Linked DNA regions of Homo sapiens: region 1 is linked to region 2. Evidence: promoter capture Hi-C in 16 types of primary human blood cells and fetal thymus (Javierre and others, 2016). All regions are on one chromosome and are shown on one strand. Each heading gives the region's core, a stretch centred on a gene start or on the middle of the fragment in contact. The rest is flanking DNA. Distances are from core to core; before and after follow the strand shown. Region 1 overlaps PDCD5 (programmed cell death 5). Region 2 holds the start of WDR88 (WD repeat domain 88).

Evidence for each region. The method cuts DNA at HindIII sites, captures the fragments that hold promoters and counts their contacts. A CHiCAGO score of 5 or more calls a contact.
Region 1: a fragment that was not itself captured here is called in contact with the fragment with the promoter of WDR88 in region 2 in 1 of 17 cell types (naive CD4 T cells); the score reaches 5.3 in naive CD4 T cells.

What each region holds. Positions count from the first base shown.
Region 1 is chr19:32,585,693-32,588,515 of GRCh38, forward strand. PDCD5 (programmed cell death 5) reads left to right here. Exons shown (of 6, transcript NM_004708.4): 4 at 124-215; 5 at 1,166-1,237; 6 at 1,561-1,761. The coding sequence ends at 1,608. Among named protein-coding and RNA genes, the nearest start is that of PDCD5, 5.9 kb to the left of the region's middle. The HindIII fragment of the contact is 1,001 bases long and covers 808-1,808 here.
Region 2 is chr19:33,130,746-33,133,445 of GRCh38, forward strand. WDR88 (WD repeat domain 88) reads left to right here and starts at 1,369. Exons shown (of 11, transcript NM_173479.4): 1 at 1,369-1,700. The coding sequence starts at 1,425. RefSeq lists an enhancer at 1,206-1,375. The HindIII fragment of the contact is 21,697 bases long and covers 1-2,700 here.

The DNA of each region.
Region 1 (2,823 bases), core at 58-2,557, 550 kb before region 2:
CTTGCCCTACACTGAGGGACAAGCTTGTGAAGTGCTTTGGAAAGGTCAATGCATAGTTTTAAGGTATAACATAAGTGCATTTGATTTTAATGGATTTTTTGCATATGTATTTTTTCTTTTTAGTAAGTAACTTAGCACTTGTAAAGCCTGAAAAAACTAAAGCAGTAGAGAATTACCTTATACAGATGGCAAGATATGGACAACTAAGTGAGAAGGTAAGCTTAGACAGCCTTGAGGAACTTTACTGTTACCTGCTTTATCAAAACATGGCTTCAAAAGGTCAGCTGCATCTTCACTGGATTACAGAATTCTTGCTGACTCTCAGAAGAAATTGTTGGAGAGAATAGTCATACCTACTTTAAAAGAGAATAAATTGCCTTTCCTAAATTCCTCTGCTTCGCTCCTTTCCTGGCGTTGCTCTGGAACCTTGTTGGTGTCTGTGACCCAATGACTGTTAGGGTCAGCTAGCTTCAATTGCCCCTGCACTGGAAGCAAGGTTTGTCAGTAACACCAATTAAAATACTACCAGTGTAAGTAGAAGGTGTGTTTTGCAGATGAGAAGGTGCTAAGATGCCTTGCTTATGTTCTCTGTGTTGCTGTAATACCATGAGGGGTATGTTGTGGCAAACCTGGCCTTTGAGATCAAGACGAACCCCACCTGCCCTGAGAAGCCGTCTGCTACCACCACAGCCTACCCGAATTGGTCCTGTCCCCTAAACCCCTCACACTGAGAACTGCTTGTGTGGGAGAGAGCTGGTTGGGTTGATCTTTTCCGAGTGTGACTTACCTCCTTCAAGGGGATGTTTAAGCTTCTCGGGCAGAAGTGGTGTGTCTATTCCTGACACCAAACACCGTGGTATATGTGGTTGTCACACTCAGCTAGTGATGATAAAGGTGTTCTTAAATATGTTAGCTTTCAGTTTTCCTGAGGAAGCAATTTTATGGATACTTCCCCCTCCTTCTCAAGTGAGGAATAGCAGAGCAAATTTTATTTGGAACTTAAACCAATAGTTATAACCAATAGTTTCAACCTCCTGCCTCACCACTGCTTCCTTCCTGAGCTCTTTCCCCACACCTCAAAAAGAGTACAAAGTGATTCCATCTGCAGAGGTAAATTCTTTGTTTAAAAAAGTACTGTTTTTCTTATCTTTTCTGGTTCTCCTAGGTATCAGAACAAGGTTTAATAGAAATCCTTAAAAAAGTAAGCCAACAAACAGAAAAGACAACAACAGTGAAAGTAAGTGTCCCCAGATGCTTGTGGCAAATGAAAAGATGGATACTTTAAAGATTAATGTTGAGTATACATCTACCACACATATTTTTCAGCCCAGAGACATTTTCCTTTTGTCAAACACGTGAAAGTTTGGGGAGAAAGGCTGAATCTGTTGGGGGAGGGTTCTAATTTTTATAGGCTCTTGACTCCATTCCCACCCTTTTAGTTCACGCTAAGTTGCTTTAAAGACACAAATGTCTTGCTAAAATTGGTAGAAATCTTTTCTCGGAAAATCTGAGTTATGCTTTATTAGAAATGTTCTGACACTCATTTAATTTTCCTCCCAGTTCAACAGAAGAAAAGTAATGGACTCTGATGAAGATGACGATTATTGAACTACAAGTGCTCACAGACTAGAACTTAACGGAACAAGTCTAGGACAGAAGTTAAGATCTGATTATTTACTTTGTTTATTGTCTATATGCCTTTTAAAAAAATAAACTTGTTATGCAAAATAAAACATTTGGGTAAGTTGTTTTAGTATCATAGCCAAGTGGCCAGATCTGTGTTTTGAATTTTTCCCCTTCCTACCAAAAGCTTTTTTTATTTTTATTTTTGTTATTATACTTTAAGTTTTAGGGTACATGTGCACAATGTGCAGGTTAGTTACATATGTATACATGTGCCATGCTGGTGCGCTGCACCCACTAACTTGTCATCTAGCATTAGGTATATCTCCCAATGCTATCCCTCCCCCCTCCCCCCACCCCACAAGAGTCCCCAGAGTGTGATGTTCCCCTTCCTGTGTCCATGTGTTCTCATTGTTCAGTTCCCACCTATGAGTGAGAATATGCGGTGTTTGGTTTTTTGTTCTTGCGATAGTTTACTGAGAATGATGATTTCCAATTTCATCCATGTCCCTACAAAGGACATGAACTCATCATTTTTTATGGCTGCATAGTATTCCATGGTGTATATGTGCCACATTTTCTTAATCCAGTCTATCATTGTGGGACATTTGGGTTGGTTCCAAGTCTTCGCTATTGTGAATAGTGCCGCAATAAACATACATGTGCATGTGTCTATATAGCAGCATGATTTATAGTCCTTTGGGTATATACCCAGTAATGGGATGGCTGGGTCAAATGGTATTTCTAGTTCTAGATCCCTGAGGAATTGCCACACTGACTTCCACAATGGTCGAACTAGTTTACAGTCCCACCAACAGTGTAATAGTGTTCCTATTTCTCCACATCCTCTCCAGCACCTGTTGTTTCCTGACTTTTTAATGATTGCTATTCTAACCGGTGTGAGATGATATCTCATTGTGGTTTTGATTTGCATTTCTCTGATGGCCAGTGATGGTCAGCATTTTTTCATGTGTTTTTTGGCTGCATAAATGTCTTCTTTTGAGAAGTGTCTGTTCATGTCCTTCGCCCACTTTTTGATGGGGTTGTTTGTTTTTTTCTTGTAAATTTGTTGGAGTTCACTGTAGATTGTGGATATTAGCCCTTTGTCAGATGAGTAGGTTGTGAAAATTTTCTCCCATTTTGTGGGTTGCCCGTTCACTCTGATGGTAGTTTCTTTTGCTGTGCAGAAGCTCTTTAGTT
Region 2 (2,700 bases), core at 119-2,618:
AGCTCCCTGCTCTGAGGCCACCTCATGTGTACCAAGGAGACCTTTTTGAAAAATAAAGTGCAGACCAGGTGTGATGGCTAATGCCTGTAATCCCAGAGCTTTGGGAGGCCGAGGCGGGAGGATTGCTTGAGCCCAGGAATTCCAGACCAGCCTGGGCCACATAGAGACCCCTGTCTCCACAAAAAATAAAGTATTGAGCATTTGTATTTTACATTATGAAAGTAGCATCATAGATCACAACAATTTTAAAAGCAGAAAGAAGGAAGAGGCCGGGTGCGGTGGCCCATGCTTGTAATCCCAGCACTTTGGGAGGCCGAGGCCAGCGGATCACTTGAGGCCAGGAGTTCAAAAACAGCCTGGCCAACATGGCGAAACCTTGTCTCTACTAAAAATACAAAAAAATTAGCCAGGTCTGGTGAGCATACACCTGTAATCCCAGCTGTGTGGGAGGCTGAGGCACGAGAATCCTTTGAACCCTGGAGGTGGAGGTTGCAGTGAGCCGAAATTGCGCTACTGCAATCCAGCCTGGGTGACAGACTCTTGTCTCCACCAAAAAAAAAAAAAAAAAAAAAGAAGGAAGAAAATCACTTTTAGTTTTATCATCCAAAGATGACACCCTTCTTCAATATTTTGAATAATTCCACCCTGTCCTTTTCTAGCTATGGGGCTGTTATCTGACTGGTGGTAGCATTTTATTCCCTGTCACTGTTGTTGGGGTTGTGACAGATATTTCCCTCATCTATTATAAATGTTGTAAACCCACCCCTAATAACTGCATCTTATTTCATGCAGGGGCTACCCCATAACTTACTGACCTTTTCTGTTTTGTCATGAAGTGGGTTGGCCAGGAGCTGTACCCAGGCAGAGGACATGAAGAAATTGCCCTGTGACAGGAGCCAGGGAAACCACAGCGGAGGGCTGGAGGCTGGGGTGCTGGTTTTGCTGGCTCGGCCTGGTTCCCAGAATGCAAAGCCCATTTTTCTTTTTTTTGCAACCTCCACCTCCTGGGTTCAAGCCATTCCCCTGCCTCAGCCTCCCATGTAGCTGGAACTACAGGCGCACGCCCCCATGCCTGGCTAATTTTTGTTATTATTTTTTTTAAGTAAAGATGGGGTTTCACTAAACCTGTTGGCCAGGCTGGTCTCCAACTCCTGACCTCAGGTAATCCGCCCGCCTCGGCCTCCCAAAGTGCCGGGATTACAGGCGTGAGCCACCGCGCCCGGCTGCAAAGCCCATTTTTCTATAGGTAACCTGTGCTGCGCGGGGTGGCACTAGTTTTCACCCAGCGGGCGAGGAGGCAGCGAAGTCGCGGGCCCAGCGTAGCGCGCGCCTCCGAAGGGCTTGGTGCGGGCGCGGGCGCGGGCGCGCGGCGCCACCGTTCCCATCCAGGCTTGTCGGCGGCCACCGGCGGACCGGGCTTCGAGATGGCCTCCCCGCCGCGGTGCTCCCCGACAGCCCATGACAGGGAATGCAAGTTGCCGCCACCCTCCGCCCCCGCCAGCGAGTATTGTCCCGGCAAGCTGTCCTGGGGGACCATGGCGAGGGCCTTAGGCCGCTTCAAGCTGTCGATCCCGCACACGCACCTGCTGGCCACCCTCGACCCCCTGGCCTTGGACAGGGAACCACCACCGCATCTGTTGCCTGAGAAGCACCAGGTGCCGGAGAAATTGATCTGGGGCGACCAGGACCCTCTCTCCAAGGTCAGAACCGCCGCTGGGGTGAGGGGGCACTGGCCTGTTCCCCACACGGGAGGAAGGCGCTCGAGCTGTCGGGGGACCCATGGAAAACCCACCTGGCTTCACCAGGACCCCCAGCGAGGCCCTAGGCCCATTTCCCCATCTGTGGTACATCTGTGGGCAAAGGTCAGACCCACCTGAGCAGGGCGTGCTGGGGATGCCGGCGGGGGCTCCCCGCACTGCCACCTGCTGGGGAACCAGGACTCTTCGCTGGGAGGAGGCTCTGCCCCACCATGTGACCCCATCTAGACCTTGGAGTCTCCGTAGGTAGGCCCACCCACAGTGATGCTCCTAATTGCAGCCCAAGGGTCGGTGGCTCAGCTCTCCCCGTCCAGGAGATACAGTTAGCGTCAGAAGAAACGGGAAACTCAGAATAATAATAACAACAATGAATTGGGCCAGGCAAGGTGGCTCACACCTGTAATCCCAGCCCTTTGGGAGGCCCAGGTGGGAGGATCACTTGAGCCCAGGAGTTTGAGACCAGCCTGGGCAACATAGTGAGAGGTCGTCTCTACAAGAAATAAACTTAGCCCAGTGTGATGGGGCGCACCTGTGGTCCCAGCCACTTGAAAGGCTGAGGCAAGAGGATCCCTTGAACCCAGGAGTTTAAGGCTGCAGTGAGCTATGATTGTGCCACTGCACTCCAGCCTGGGCAACAGAGCGAGACTGTCTCCAGAATAAATAAATAAATAAATAAATAAATAAATAAATAAATATAGAGAGAGAGAGAGAAAGAAAGAAAGAAAAAGAAAAAGAAAGAAAGAAGGAGAAAGAAAGAAAAACTGGCTGGGTGCAGTGGCTCATGTCTGTAATCCCAGCACTTTGGGAAGCCGAGATGAGCAGATCACTTGAGGTCAAGGGTTCGAGACCAGCCTGGCTAACATGGTGAAACCCTTTCTCTACTAAAAATGCAAAAATTAGCCAGGCATGGTGGTGCGTGCCTGTAATCCCAGCTACTCAGGAG